Regions from separate parts of the Homo sapiens genome. Here region 2 is linked to region 1. The links are contacts of gene promoters, found by promoter capture Hi-C in human tissues and cell types (Jung and others, 2019). All regions are on one chromosome and are shown on one strand. Each heading gives the region's core, a stretch centred on a gene start or on the middle of the fragment in contact. The rest is flanking DNA. Distances are from core to core; before and after follow the strand shown. Region 1 holds the start of CNPPD1 (cyclin Pas1/PHO80 domain containing 1). Region 2 holds the start of FEV (FEV transcription factor, ETS family member).

Region 1 (6,951 bases), core at 3,739-6,238:
GCGTGAAAAACCCTGATACAAAGCAGTGGCCAGAGAGGCCTGGGAAGAGAATACCTGGGAGAAGAACCAGAAGAGAGGGAAACCTAGGAGCAGGACACTAAGAGAAGACTGGAAGACAAAAGATCAGGGTTGAAGGTCCCAGCAGTCCTTGGCTCCATTAGACTAAAGCTAAGGAATGGGAGTGAAAAGGGTTCCCTGCCTCACCCAGCAGCTCCCACCTGAACCCATCAGTCCCCGGCTCTTCTGCCTCAGGGACATCACACAGGCCCATGCCAACATTTCCTTTCTCCTCTCACCCCACTTCCCTTATCTCCCACCTATACTCTTCCATCCTAGGGAAATCAAAAGTAAAAGTCTAAAAAATCCCAGGGAGGCAGAGAGGGGCTTCTATGTCCATCTGGGACATGTCCCTGGTCACCAAGCGGAAGCTCTCCCTGGCGGCATCACTGTCCTGGCCAAGCAGCCAGCCACTGCGATCTAGGAGTGAATTACCTTCAGTCCTTCTGCCCCACCACCCCATAAGCTCCCACCCAGGAGGACAGGGGACCTGCCAAGGACCCAGCGAGGCAGACAGGATCTGAATCAAGCTTTGCTCCTCCAGGTTCTCAGAAACTCCCAAACCCTCTTAATGCATTCCTCACAGCCCTACCTAGCCTGGGAAAACGAAAGACTTGAGGCGAGCCAGCTCCATGACACTGAAAAGGGAACATTGCTGAGGCTGAGGAAGTGAAAGGAGCACCGGGCTCCAAGGCCAGGGGGGAGCCAGGCCATAGGTATGGTACCAGGGGCTGGACAGCGCAGTGGGGACTGTACGGTTGGGGTGGAGGCAGGCATGGCAGGTTGGGGAGTCTCTCTGGAGCTTCTGGCAAAGGTGGCAGTTATGAAGAAGAGTGGGAGGGGCAGGGGGGTCTGGGGGAGGCAATGGTGGAGGAGTCAGTGAGGCCAGAAGACTGCCCCAGAGTGACCGCAGCCCCATGCTGCCTTCCAGGCAGCTGGAGACATTAGCGAGAGACGGCAGGCATTGTGGCACAGAAGGTATGCAGGGCTCCAGGAGGCAACGGGAGGTCAGTCCAAGGTCAGGCGGCCCAGGTGTAGGGATGCAGGACAGCCCCAAAGACTGATGTATTACGGCCACCGATGCCACAGCCAGGGCCACACTGCTCACATATGCCACAGCTAACAGGCAAGACAGCTGCAGGAGAGGAGATAAGAAAGAAGGAATCTGTCTTTAACACATTCACCCCTTGTCTCTAGAAATCTGTGTTCCAGTTGGAGGTCTCTATAGCCATTTACACCCCACTCTGCCCATCTATTCCCAACCCCATCTCCTGGGCTTTTCAGCAATCACTTCACACCATCCCACCCTACACACCGGCCTGCTCAAGCTCCCTATCCTTCCGAGCCCCTCCTCACCTTTACCAGCCGCTGGCAGAGGGAGCCCAGGGCCAACTGCCAGGTCGGCTGCTCCAGCAGCACACACAGGTCTGTGTAGGTGTACCAGCCTCGCCACCGTCCCTGCTGCTCAGCCACACTGGGGGAAGTGGAGAAATGACAAGAGTATGCAACTGTCCTGCAGCCAGCCCAGTGGCACCCTCATACCACTCAGGACCCACCAGGAAACACTGGGAAGCCTGTTAAACCCAGATTCCTAGGCTATCTGCTGATCTAGAAACTAAGGGTGAGACCAAGACCTATATTTTATTTATTTTTATTTATTTATTTTGTTAAGACAGGATCTTGCTGTCTCCCAGGCTGGAGTGCAGTAGTGCAATCATAGCTCACTGCAGACTCAACATCCTGGACTCAAATGATCCTCTTGTCTCAGCCTCCTGAGTAGCTGGGATTATGGGTGTACACCACTGCATCTGGCTAGTATTTTTTTCTGGTAGGGTCAGGCATCTTGCTATATTGCCCAGGCTGGTCTCGAACTCCTGGACCCAAGTAATCCTCCAGCCTCACCCTCCCAGAGTGCTAGGATTATAGACATAACTACCATACCCACCCAATACATGTATTTTAAATAAGCTGCTTCTCACCTTCCCAAAGGTGATGAAGAAGAGGACAGATGGGTCTGGGAACCACTATCTGGGCAATTCTCTTTCTTGTCTCCTCCCTCCCCCAGTTACACAGACTCTCATCTCTAGCTCCTATGGCTGAGGACTCAGCCCCCAAATCCCTCGAGCCCTTCTTCCCAACTCCTAGAACCTACCAGCTCTCCAACCAGCTCAGCACCTCAAAGATCTCCCGAGGGTCAGTGTAGAGATGCCAATCCTGTGAGTACGGAGAGTGGACATCAAACCAGACTTGGATGAGCCACAGTCATTTAATAATAAGAGCCATAGCAGCAACTACAACCGCCCCTATGGCTAATGCATATTTGGCACTTACCATGTGCCAGATACTGTCTCAAAAGTTTTTACACATTAACTCATTGAATCACCACCTGCCTGGTTTCACATTATACTCTCCACTAAGCAAGAGGGGAGAAAATGACCCTGAGAATGGTCTGTGTCCACAGGGAGCTAAACATCTAGGGGCAGAGAAAGTATGGACACAAATATTCAGAACCCAATAGGATAAACTCTGACTCAGAGTGTACCCTGTGGGGCCCTGGAGGAATAGAGGAGGCGAGGAAATGTTCTGCTCTTGGCCTTACTGCTCTACGAATCTCCAAAAACTGGTTAGTACTGAAGAGATAGGAAAGGAAGACACTAACACAAAGGCAGGAGGAGGACAGGAAGAGAAATGACGAACCAACAGAAGACTGAGAGAGAACAAAGGACTAAAGGACGGTTAAAGATGGGCCAGGGAAACTGAGCAAGAGAGAGAACAGCTGCTCACCATGGCACTCAGGAAGCCCCTCTCCAAGGCATTGAGAGTGGGCACGGCCACACCCCCAGCAGCTCCCCATTCGTCGTTGAAGACCTCCTCCTCCTCCCCTTCATCATAGAGGTACTTACTGGCCACCATCTGCAGAGGAACCAGAAGTGGTGGAGCAGAGCTCATAGCAGGCTCTTGGCTCTTTAGGGAGATGGGGAGGGGGTGTCTTACCATGGAGATCAGGAACAAGTCAGAGGATGACACATGCTGCAAGTAGTCTGGGTTTCGGTGCCGGAGCCGTTCAATGTACACCAGAGCCAGCATCATAGCACATGGGGAGATGCATGCCTCCCTGGGTGGTAGAAAGGATCACTAATTAAACCCAAGGGTCCTTCAGCTCTTGCAAGTCTTATGATGCTCGTTCCTGTCTTTACCTCTTATCTTTGGAAAAAAACTATTCCTGGCTGGGCACGGTGGCTCATGTCTGTAATCCCAGCACTTTGGAAGACCAAGGTGGGTGGACTGACACCAGGAGTTTGACACCAGCCTGGCCAACATGGTGAAACCCCGTCTTTACTAAAAATACAAAAATTAGCCAGGGGCGGTGGTGTGTGCCTGTAGTCCCAGCTACTGGGGAGGCTGAGGCACAAGAATCACTGGAACCCAGGAGGCGGAGGTTGCGGTGAGCCGAGATTGTGCCACTGCACTCCAGCCTGGGTGACAAAGTGAGACTGTCTCAAAAAAAAAAAAAAGAAAGAAAGAAAAGAAAGAAAAGACGATTCCCCTTTCTCTAGGGCCCAAACACTCTCATCCTATCCTCATTTCCAGGCTCACCGGGACACATGAGCTACATATTTCTTCTGGAGTCGGCGAATAGGGCTGGGGGCTGCCTTCTGGAGCAGTTCGACAGCAATGTCTGCAAGGGACAGAAGGAAGGCCGAGTGAGCAAACAAGCACCCACACCCAACACACCAGTCCCCACTGCTAGCAGAAGACCCAGATCTGTATTTTCTGAGGCCTTGGGGACAGGACCATAGTAACAAAATAGAGATCAAATTCTCACACACTGAGACAAAAAGCCCATTCCAAGTTCGAATTTCAGCTCATTCTAACAGGAAAGCTTATTGCCCTGTCACATCAAACTATCCAGATTTATCTGTCACTGCTGTTCATCTGTGGCATAAACATGCCTTGTTTACTTGGGGAACATATGATGGATATCCTTCGAAAATTAGCTTTTCAATATATAAATCAAGAGTGATTTGTATAGATATATGTGGCAGCAATGTTTTTTATTCATTTGGGCTAAAAGAATGGGAAATGCAAACTGCCCTCTTGAACCAAGTACCAACGAGCTAGCAATGAAGAGACAGTGTAGCCACGGGGCAAACCTCGAGCCATTTTCTGCCTGATGACAATCCCATTTTCATGCTTCTCACTTGTCCAGTCACACAACACTGCCTAACCTGCCACCGGGCTGGAGAGCTCCTCCAGGCTACAGTCGGCTTCCCAGTCCCAGCCATAGTAGAGCCTCCTTCGGATCCGGGCACTCAGCTTCTGGTGTCCTGGGAGGAACTGAAACAGGGCAGGGGCAGCGGAGGGTGAAGGGCACGGAAAGGTATGATGCAGATCCTGGCTCTGGGCTGGAAGGCGGGGCAGGGGACAGGCCGGCCTCGCTGCTAGGGGGCCCGTGCCTTACCCAGACCCGCGTTCTGTAAATCGCTTGCCAATGGCAGCCTGGTCCATAGAGGGAGGAATGCCCCCACCCCCATCGAGGGTTCCCCGGGAGAAGTTCTCCGAGAAGGGCCCTCGTGTGGCCACCCCTACGCCCATTCCTATACTCCGCGGCTCTCCCTCCCGGCCCAAGCAGCCGCGGCCTCAAGGAAGCACTGCTCGAGCAGCTGCCGCCCAGTCCCGGCACAGCAGTCAGGCGAGCTCGCAGCGCCGCTCAGGCCGGGAGGGGCGCGCCGGGAGGCCGGGGAGGGGGCGGGACCCCCACTCACCGTGAAGTCCTGGAAGCCGGCGAGGGAGAAGGTGCCTTCTTCGTCCAGCAGGAGCCCGGTCAGGTCCATCGCGCCGCCAGTCGCCGCCCTGCGAAGGTGAACGGAAGGAAACGAGTTGTAGGGGGCTCGCGGAGCTGTCCTTGCCCGCCTGTCCACCTGCCAGCCTGCCTCCCCGGGGCGGGCCGCCGTCCTCGCCCTCGCCCTCGCAGCTCCCTCCCCCCGGCGGCGGAAGGCGGGGCCCGGGCTGAACTGGGCGCCTCTTCCTGTTCCGCCCCGGGCTTGGCGCGGCGCGCGGGGGCCCTAGGCCCGGGAAGGGAGGTGTCAAGCGTCCGTGCGACGCTCACCTCGCGGAGCAGAAAGGAGATGCGGCTGCGAGGCGCGTACTCCGCCTGTGCCGCGTCCGCCCGGCGTTTACAAGCCGCGGGGGTGCCGCCTGCAAGTCAGCGCCTGGCACTTCCTGCCGCCCATCTGGCCCAGCCTCCCGCCCCGACCCGCGGGCAGGAACCGGACTCGAACTCCTGGTCTCACGGAACGTGGCCAAGCCCCAGGCGCCTCTGAGAAATGGGGACAATTCGTAGGGGGGACCACGCCGCACTGAGGATGAACAAGCCAGGCGTAGCAATGGAGAAGTTAATGTGAATAAGACGAAACGCACAACAGGAAGTTGTTCCCAGTTGCTTTTTAGGAGAGATATTATACATACTCAGCAATGCATATGAAAAGCGTCTGAAAGGACACACAGGAAATTTAGCAGTGGGTGAACTATGAAAAGGAAGAGAAACTCAGGGTGTTTTTTTTTTTTACTGTAATTTGAACTTTTAAACCTAAGGCTACTGAGGAAATTCTGTGATCTTAAGCGAATGTAAGGCCTCAAAACGTGTCAACACGTCCACCCAAAAGTAAACTGCATCTACCCAAGGTTTTGTGTTGAAACCCACCTCCCGCCTCCGATCTCATGCTTGAGTAGGCCGAGGTGGGAAGAAGCTCCGATATGTGGAAGTGGGAAAGTTTAAGGAGATAGGAAAGAAACAACTTTTCTGAGTAGATGTTGTTTTCGAGTCTGTCGAGTCAAGCGCTGGTGTGTGTTTGTTTACCCACTGAGGGGAGGGAACTGGGAGGACCAGTGCGTTGAGGGTTGGTTGAGTAATGGGACGGCCACCGCCCTTCCCGAGCGAGCAGAAGCAGACCCTACCGGGGATACTGGGAATCTGGAAGCCCACTTCCTGCCCCACACGGGGATACCGGGGCAGCACCACACTCCCTAGCCGCCCTGCCTACTGTGGGATAAGAAAACGGGCTCGACTGCCTGGACCTAGACCCGGACTCGGAACCCGGGGTACTTCGTCAACCAGAAAACGAACCTGTGTAGGCGCAGTGTCAGCGGCAGCCGCCGGGGCGCATGCGCGGCCCGCCCTATCCGGGGGGGGGGGGGTTAGGCCGCGTCACGTGACGGGCTCAGCGCTCCGCAGTCACGTGACGCTCGTCCGCAACCTCTGCTGTCCTCCGCGGCGCCCCCTTCCGCCTGACGCGCCCCCGGCGGCGGCCGCGCAGCCCTGGCTCCTCGCGGGCTCGGGCGGCGGCTGCGGCGGGGCTATGGCGAGCGGCGGTGGCGGGGGTAACACTGGCGCGGGTGGGGGGCCGGGGATGGGCCTGAGCCTGGGCCTGGGTCTGGGTCTGAGCCTAGGCATGAGTGAGGCCACCAGTGAGGCAGAGGAGGAGGCGGCCACGGCCGAGGCGGTGGGACGCCTGGCCACGACGCTGTGGCTGCGGCTCCGCGGCTGGGAGGCGGTGCTGGCGGCGGCGCAGCGGTTGCTGGTGTGGGAGAAGCCGCTGCACAGCCTGGTCACGGCGGCCGCGCTCAACGGCCTCTTCTGGTAACGGCCGCGGAGGAGGGGGCGGGGCCGGGATGAGCGGGGGAGGGAGGGGTCGAGAGCACCATTCCCCTTTCTGGGTTATCACTTGGCCTGGGGGCATGACCCATCCCCAGTTTTTGCAGGCTGACATCCGCTTGAATTGCCCATTTTTTTCTATCTCTGAGTCGTGAGTCGCGAGTTAGGCCTGGAGGTGCCATTACCCCATCAGTAGGCGCCTTTCCACCTTCTGAGATGGATGCATGAGCCTGTCTCAC
Region 2 (6,838 bases), core at 514-3,013, 190 kb before region 1:
CAATCCCTTCAAGCCAGCCCAGCAAAGAGCTTCCTGGTTTCTGGTCCCCAGAGTTAAGTTTTAGGGTCAGAAGCAAGGGAAGGTTTGGGTACAAAGGTGCACCTGGCACCAAAGGCGGAGCAACCTCAGCGGCTTGGATGACCGTTCCTGTTGGGCATAGTTTCCTTCTGGATAAAACAGTCGCCAACCTCGTTTTTGTGGTTTCTGTCTCTTGGTGAGATCTAGGGTAACGACTGAGATGGGGACTGTGGGGAGACGCTGCTTGAAGAGCCAGCCGTCAAAAGGGTAATTTAGCGACTACCCGTGGAGCGCTGGTGGTGAACCTGGGAATCAATTGCAATCGTCTGGCAGAGTTGGCCAGCAGAGATCAGCCGGCGTGAGTCAGCGCCGGAGGGTGAAGCAGGTGGCAGTAGCCAGGGTCTAGTGATTGGGAAGCCCGCTGTGTTTGGGGAGTAATTCCCCCGGTTCCATTGCCGGCTGGTGCTGCGGCCTTGAGCTCCTACTACCAGCAGGGAAAGGACGCTAAGTGTCCCAGCCCCTGCCCCAAAGCCTGGAAAACCATACACAGCAGCAAAAGGGCCTGGGGCTGGGATCCTCTCCATCTGCCTTGGCCTGCAACTCTTTTCCTGGTGCTCAGGAGATGCAGGAGCCAAAAACCAAGTGACTGTCTTCCCAAGGCCTCCGCACAACCAGGCCAGGACTCCGGGCTTCAGTGTGAACCCTGGGTCCACACTGCTCCCACCTACTGTCCGCCTGTGCCCTGACCCCAACCAACCTCGCCTCCGCCGCCCAGCGCGCCGGCCATCTCACCTTTCTGAACCGCGGGGCTCAGCGGCCCCCAGCTCGGGTTCTTCCCGTCCTTGAAGAGACCGTCTCCGACGGGATCTGCAAGCAGCAGAAGAAAAGAATCAGGAGAACCCCGGGCGGAAGTTGTGGGCTTGACAAAAGGGCCCCGGGCCAAGGCTTAAGGGGGGTGCTGTGGTCCCCAGGCGCGAGGCTGGGGGCCCGGGCCACCCGGCTCCTCCTCCCGGAGCCTGGTCCAGGCGCGCTGCGCGGAGCCCCTCCATAGAGCCCAAGTCAGGAAACGCGTCCAGGAAAAAGGAAATCCGCTTTCCGAAGGGGCCGGCTGGAGCCTTATAAAGCCGAGCGGGGAACTGCGCCAGCCGAGCTGGAGCGCGAAGAGAAGAGGAGGGTGCCTGGAGGGCCGGCCTGAAGCTCGTAGCAGGAAGGTGAGGAGCCGTGAGAGCGCAGGGGAGACGCCCGCGGACCACAGCCTTCTGGTACGGCTCGGCCACAGAGTACTCCACCACGCCAGAGACCCGTGCTTCCCCTCTCAGGCTCCTTCGGGTCCCTGAGTCCCGGCTCTTGGCCCCCAGGCTCCCAATCTGCTCATTTCAACTCCTCTAGACCCTGCACTGAAACCCAGAGCTCTCTATCTGCCTTTAGGTCTCCCCAGTGCCCTACATTACAATCGGCCCTCCATGCAACCCGAATCTCCGGACACTTCTCCTTCCCCTGGACCCCAGCACTCTCTTCCCATGCCTGAGCCTAGACTTCCCGCCCCAGGTTCCGGTGCCACCAGCCTCCGGCTGGTCCCTGGTACCTGGCAGGTACATGTTGATCAGCAGGGGCTGGGAGGCGCCGCTCTGTCTCATCGCCGCCGGGGACTGGGCGGTGGGAGATGGGGGGGACGGGGAAGGGGGGCGAGGCAGGCTTTGCGCTCGGTGGCACCGATCCCCGCCCGAAGCGACCGCGGGTGACAAGGAGGAGAAGACGGCGCCGGGTCCGGCAGGGCCTGGCGGGAGGGGGCAGCCCGGGCGTGGCGGGGGTTGCGGGGGGGTCCTGGAGAAACGCTTCCAGCTAAGGGGCCGCTTGGAACCCTCCGGCCCCCGCGCGGCCCGGGGCCGCAATTTCCGTTTTAATTAAAGCGCTGCCGCCTCGGCCCCCAGGACCCCGCCCCCGCCCCTCTTATCGTCCCATCGCAATAAAGTCTCCAACGCGCCGCGCCACAGCCAAGCGCACCCGGCAGCCCCCCGCGCCCCGCAGCCGGGGAGACGCGCGGGGGATGGGCCCGGGCCATGTGCCCTGATGGGAGCCTAGAGCGCGTGTCTTTTCCGCCTCCCTGACTCTCTGCAAACAGTGATGGGGCTGGTGTACCCGGCCCCACCTCGGACCCCAGCAGCCACAGCCCCCTCCCTAGAGCCCTTCTTCCAGTCGGCTCCCGCTCCACTCGCCGCTCACTCTCCTCCCCCTCCCTCCCTCTATCCCCACCCGGGTTCCCGTCTCCAGGCTGCGTTATCTGCATCTTCACTTTTAAATTTCCGCTTCCCTCCCTCTCGCCTGTCGCTGCGCGCCCGGCCCTGCAGCCGTTGCTCCCTTTATCTCTGCCCGCATCCCCGCTCCCTCCTCCTCTTCTCCCACTCTCTGCTCTTCCCTAGAGACCCGAACCCCTTCCCCGTCTCCTTCTTGCTTTGGCCCGTTTCCTGCCTTTCTGGGGCCCCCAAGCCTCAGGCCTGGTGCTGGGCCATCTCTCCTGGCAACTTATGATGGGTGGCCCCCTCTTCTGTCCTCCCCGCCCCCTTCTAGGTCTCTCTTTACCTCCTAGGCTTTTCTCTCCGACTCTCATCTCCCCTCCAGCCTTCTCTCTCCCTCTCATCCTTCTCCCTCCCCTCCTTTTCTCATTCATTCAGTCCCCATAAATTAGTAGTGGCTTGGACTGCTGAAGGCCTCTAAAGATGTTGAGAATCTGTCCTGGCTTTCCCTGATGGGTTCCTGAGCCCCCTGCTACTTCCCTGTACAACTATTCTGCTCCCATCCTTCCCCATCCCCTGTCCTCCCAGTCTGCCACCCACCCTCACCACTACTCCCATTCTGGCTATCCCTGAACGAGGCTGGAGAGGTGGAGGGGTTAAGACAGGGTTGTGCACTGTACAAGGCTGGAATCCACTCCAAGAAAAGGATTCCTATTTCTAACTCATGCAAAGATGTTGATGTGGTTCCCAAGTGGCCTGGAGTCTCTCTGGGTACCTATGGGGCTTCGTGGCTCTGGAGAGGCAGGCTAAGGAGGATGCTGGCTGAAGATGAGGCTCCAGCCCAGAAGCCCACCTTCTGCAGCCTTGCAGTATGGAACGGGTACTGTCAAAACTGGCATTCTCAAAGTCCTCTCTCACTGCTTGAGCCCAGGGGTGGAGGAGGCCTGGGAATGGGCAGGTCTCCTGCTAAGTGCCTGGTCCTGGGATGCCTGATTGAGGATGGCTGGAAACTCCTACTTCTGGGGTTCTACAGGGCCCATGTTCACCCTCATTTGCTGCAACTTCTGGAGTGTTCATCTTTGCTCGTGGAGGGTGCAAAGGAGCCAGGGAGAAGAGTGGGAGGCAGAGTGTGGAGGGAAAAAGAGGGATCCCAGGGCCTGGGAGGATCCTAGTGGGACAGGGATGAAGCCTTCAGGATGTGGACCTGGAATCTGGTGGGAGCAAAGACTAGAGGTTGGAATGTTCCCTGTGGACCAAACTCAGGGCTCCACAGAAGGTGAGGGCCTTGAAGTTGGGGTCAAGATCCCAATCCCTCTCCTTCTCATTCCTCTTTCTGCTTCCCCCACCCACTATGGACAGAAAACAAGGAGCAGGAGGTAAGAACAGAAAATAGCCAGGGGCAGGAGGTAAGAGCTGGGAAAGCTGGGAGGCATCAAAATTCGCCCACTTAATGCTCTCAGTGGGAGGCTAAGGTGTAAAGGAGAGGGTCCTAGTGAGGTCTACCCAAATATCCCAGCTGTGAGCTGGGCAAGGATCAACAGTATAGGCTTTATCCCTCAGTCTTACCCAGAAGTCATTTGCTGAGGGGGTGGAGCACCAGGAAATGTGTGCATGGGGGGCAGTCATCTCCACCCACCTGAGTCTTGATCTTCTCCATCCCCTCCTGCTGCAAGTACAGCTAGGGAAGCCAACAGGAGAGTCCTTGGCAGTTTCCCCTTCATCCCCTTCCTACCCTGCTGAGCGCTGGTCCCATGTGGTTCTGCAGATGGCCAGCCTGCCCAGAATGAATGGAGGACCAGAAGGTCCAGAGTCACACTTCTAGTTCCTGAAGCCATCTTGCTGATTCTTCCCAGCAACCACAGATACCCCTGTAGGGAGAGCAGCTCAGTCAAGGGCAGATTCCAGATCTCCCTTTGCTCATTGCCTGCTCCCCAAAGCAAGCAGTGGGGAAGTGGCCTGCTGGGCTCTGAAGCCAGTTTGCCTGGGTTCTAGTTTCAACTCCTGACTCTCCCATTTCCTGGTTATGTGACTTTGGGGGAAGTAACATAACCTCTGTACTGTACTTGCATCTCCTCATTTGTAAAGTGGGTATGGGCCAGCGCAGTGGCTCATGCCTGTAATCCCAGCACTTTGGGAGGCCAAGGAGGGTGATCACCTGAGGTCAGGAGTTCAAGACCAGCCTGGCCAACAAGGTGAAACCCCATCTCTACAAAAATACAAAAATTAGCCTGGCATGATGGCAGGTGCCTGTAATCCCAGTTACTCAGGGGCTAAGGTGGAAGAATTGCTTGAACCCAGGAAGTGGAGGTTGCAATGAGCTGAGATCGTGCCAACGCACTCCATCCTGGGCAACAGAGTGAGACTCTGTCTCAAAATAAAAATAAAAATAAATAAAAATAAAATGGGTATGATAGTACCTGCCATACAGAATGATGAGGTTTATATGAGATAACACATGTGAAGGGCTTAGATCAGATTCTATACATGTAGCTATTGTAAATATTGCCATTCCACAAGGGGATGGGGAGGTGCCCATGACCAGCCAGGAACCCCAGGTTCCTCTGGGGCCCACAGAAGTTTGGGGCTCTGCTGAGGCCTGTGGCTTTTAGCCACAGCTCAGTTCAGCCTCCACCTAACAGCCTGGATTTAGGGCCAAGAACTCTGTGTTCAAATCCTGGTTTTGTCACCAATTAAGTGGGTGATGTCATCAAAGTTTCTCCTTGGACCCCCAGTTTGGTAAAATAGATGGAATTGGAGAGTATTAGGAGGATTGAATGCAACAAGGGCCATGGACTCTAGAGCCCATTCGAGTGTAAAGCAAAATTTATACGCCATCCAAAGCTCACTCCCTTGGTCCCCTGACCCAACCCTAGGATCCATAGCGGGGAGGTAGGGGAAGGAGGTCCCTACATTGACTACCCCAGTGCTTTTCCATAACACCACAAACATTTGCAGGGGTTTCTCATGGAATCCTCCCAACAGCCCCTGTGAGACAGGCAGGACAGTGGCCAATAGCCCCAGTTTACAAGGTGAGGGAATTGGGTCCCAGGTGTTCTGACTTATGGTCCGGAGCTCTTCCCAAAGGAGCAGCTGCCTGACTTTGCACAGCTGAACCTCTGGGGATTTCAGGCCCAAGTCTGACTGCTCCCTGGCATTGTCCTGCTCTGCCTGGCCTGGGGCAATAATTAGAGCCACCCTTCCCCACTGATAGGTCCACTGGGGACTTGAAAACACAAGAATCCCTGAAGGACAGGATGAAGGCAGTCCCAAGAATCTTGAGAGGCTCTGTCTGTGTGGGGGTTGGGGGGCATCACCAACTGGACCGAAGAGGGAACTGGGAAAAAACCCATACTAGTGCCAGAGGCTCTAATGGCTGCCACCATACTCAGCCCTGCCATGCCTATGGGCACCTGCCACTTGCCCAGAACCCAGGCTTAGCAACTGAGGGGTGACTTCTACAGCTCACCAGTTTTCTGAAGGGTAGGGAGGGAAAGGAAGAGTGAAGAGGGGGTGGTATGGAGCAGCTGAGAGGGGGGATATGAAGATGCTTTGTAAATGCTGGAGTTCAACACCACTGCAAGGGATTGTCATTGTTCAAAGGGTCTGGGGGCTGGGCTCAGAGGGTGGAAGTCTCCCCTTTGAAGGCCCTGGGAAGCAGTGGGGTTTCCCACTAACTCCCCTCCTGCGAATGGAGGAAATGGGACAACGCAGGAGGCTCAGGCTTCCCTTACTGGGCAGGGAACTGGGTGAAGATAAAGGTTGAAAATGCTCTGGGGTTACAGAGGAAGCCCAGAACTTCAGTGCATGGTAAGGAAGTTCTGCCCTGCATGATGGTACCTGGGCCAGGAGATGTGTGGAAGCTGCAATCCAGCTATGAGCCCTGTTGTTGGGGTGTGTCCACCCCACCCACAAGGTGGCAAAGGTGCCATCTGAGCTAGCAGTACCCTGGGCCCATAGTGGTGGACCTTACCAAGGAGAGGTTTGGGACTGGTGCCATTTAACAGAATTACTAAGGTTTTTTTGTTGTTGTTGTTTTTGTTTGTTTGTTTGTTTCGGAGTCTTGCTCTGTCGCCAGGCTGGAGTGCACTGGCACGATCTTGGCTCACTGCAGCCTCCACCTCCCAAGTTCAAGCAATTCTCCTGCCTCAGCCTCCCAAGTAGCTGGGATTACAGGTGTGCACCACCACACCCAGCTAATCTTTGTATTTTTAGTAGAGACGGGGTTTCACCATGTTGACCAGGATGGTTTCAATCTCTTGACCTTGTGAGCCACGTGTCTCAGCCTCCCAAAGTGCTGGGATTGCAGGAATGAGCCACTGCGCCCAGCCAGAATTGCTAAGATTCTTACCAGCACTTTGCTGTCAGACCCACCAGAGCCTACCCACACACAACCTCAGCCAGCTTACACTTCGTAGCCAAGGATGCTGGAGCCTGTGGGGAGGGTCAGCTTGGCAGGGAGGGACCTTCAGAAAGATGAGGATGGAGATCACAAAGCAAGACACCAAGGAGGCAAGAGGGGCAGGAAGATTCAGGAACCTTTATTGAGTGTCCTCAGGGAAGGTGTCTGGGGCCGTGGAGCCTAGTGC

Evidence for each region. The method cuts DNA at HindIII sites, captures the fragments that hold promoters and counts their contacts. A contact is called where the count stands out against the background at its distance.
Region 2: the fragment with the promoter of FEV here is called in contact with the fragment with the promoter of CNPPD1 in region 1 in 1 of the 25 tissues and cell types used here (IMR-90 fibroblasts).

Annotation. Positions count from the first base shown.
Region 1 is chr2:219,171,937-219,178,887 of GRCh38, forward strand. CNPPD1 (cyclin Pas1/PHO80 domain containing 1) reads right to left here and starts at 4,989. Exons shown (of 8, transcript NM_015680.6): 1 at 4,824-4,989; 2 at 4,287-4,395; 3 at 3,655-3,736; 4 at 3,052-3,172; 5 at 2,842-2,970; 6 at 2,210-2,271; 7 at 1,414-1,531; 8 at 1-1,192. The coding sequence starts at 4,892. The coding sequence ends at 650. It overlaps RETREG2 (reticulophagy regulator family member 2), which reads left to right and starts at 6,339. Exons shown (of 9, transcript NM_024293.6): 1 at 6,339-6,697. The coding sequence starts at 6,417. RefSeq lists silencers at 4,611-4,905, 4,744-4,803, 4,924-5,133, 5,204-5,253, 6,244-6,323 and 2 more and an enhancer at 6,034-6,534. The HindIII fragment of the contact is 7,594 bases long and covers 2,264-6,951 here.
Region 2 is chr2:218,983,421-218,990,258 of GRCh38, forward strand. It overlaps FEV (FEV transcription factor, ETS family member), which reads right to left and starts at 1,764. Exons shown (of 3, transcript NM_017521.3): 1 at 1,604-1,764; 2 at 811-885. The coding sequence starts at 1,655. CRYBA2 (crystallin beta A2) reads right to left here. Exons shown (of 4, transcript NM_057093.2): 4 at 6,770-6,838. The coding sequence ends at 6,832. The HindIII fragment of the contact is 32,237 bases long and covers 1-6,838 here.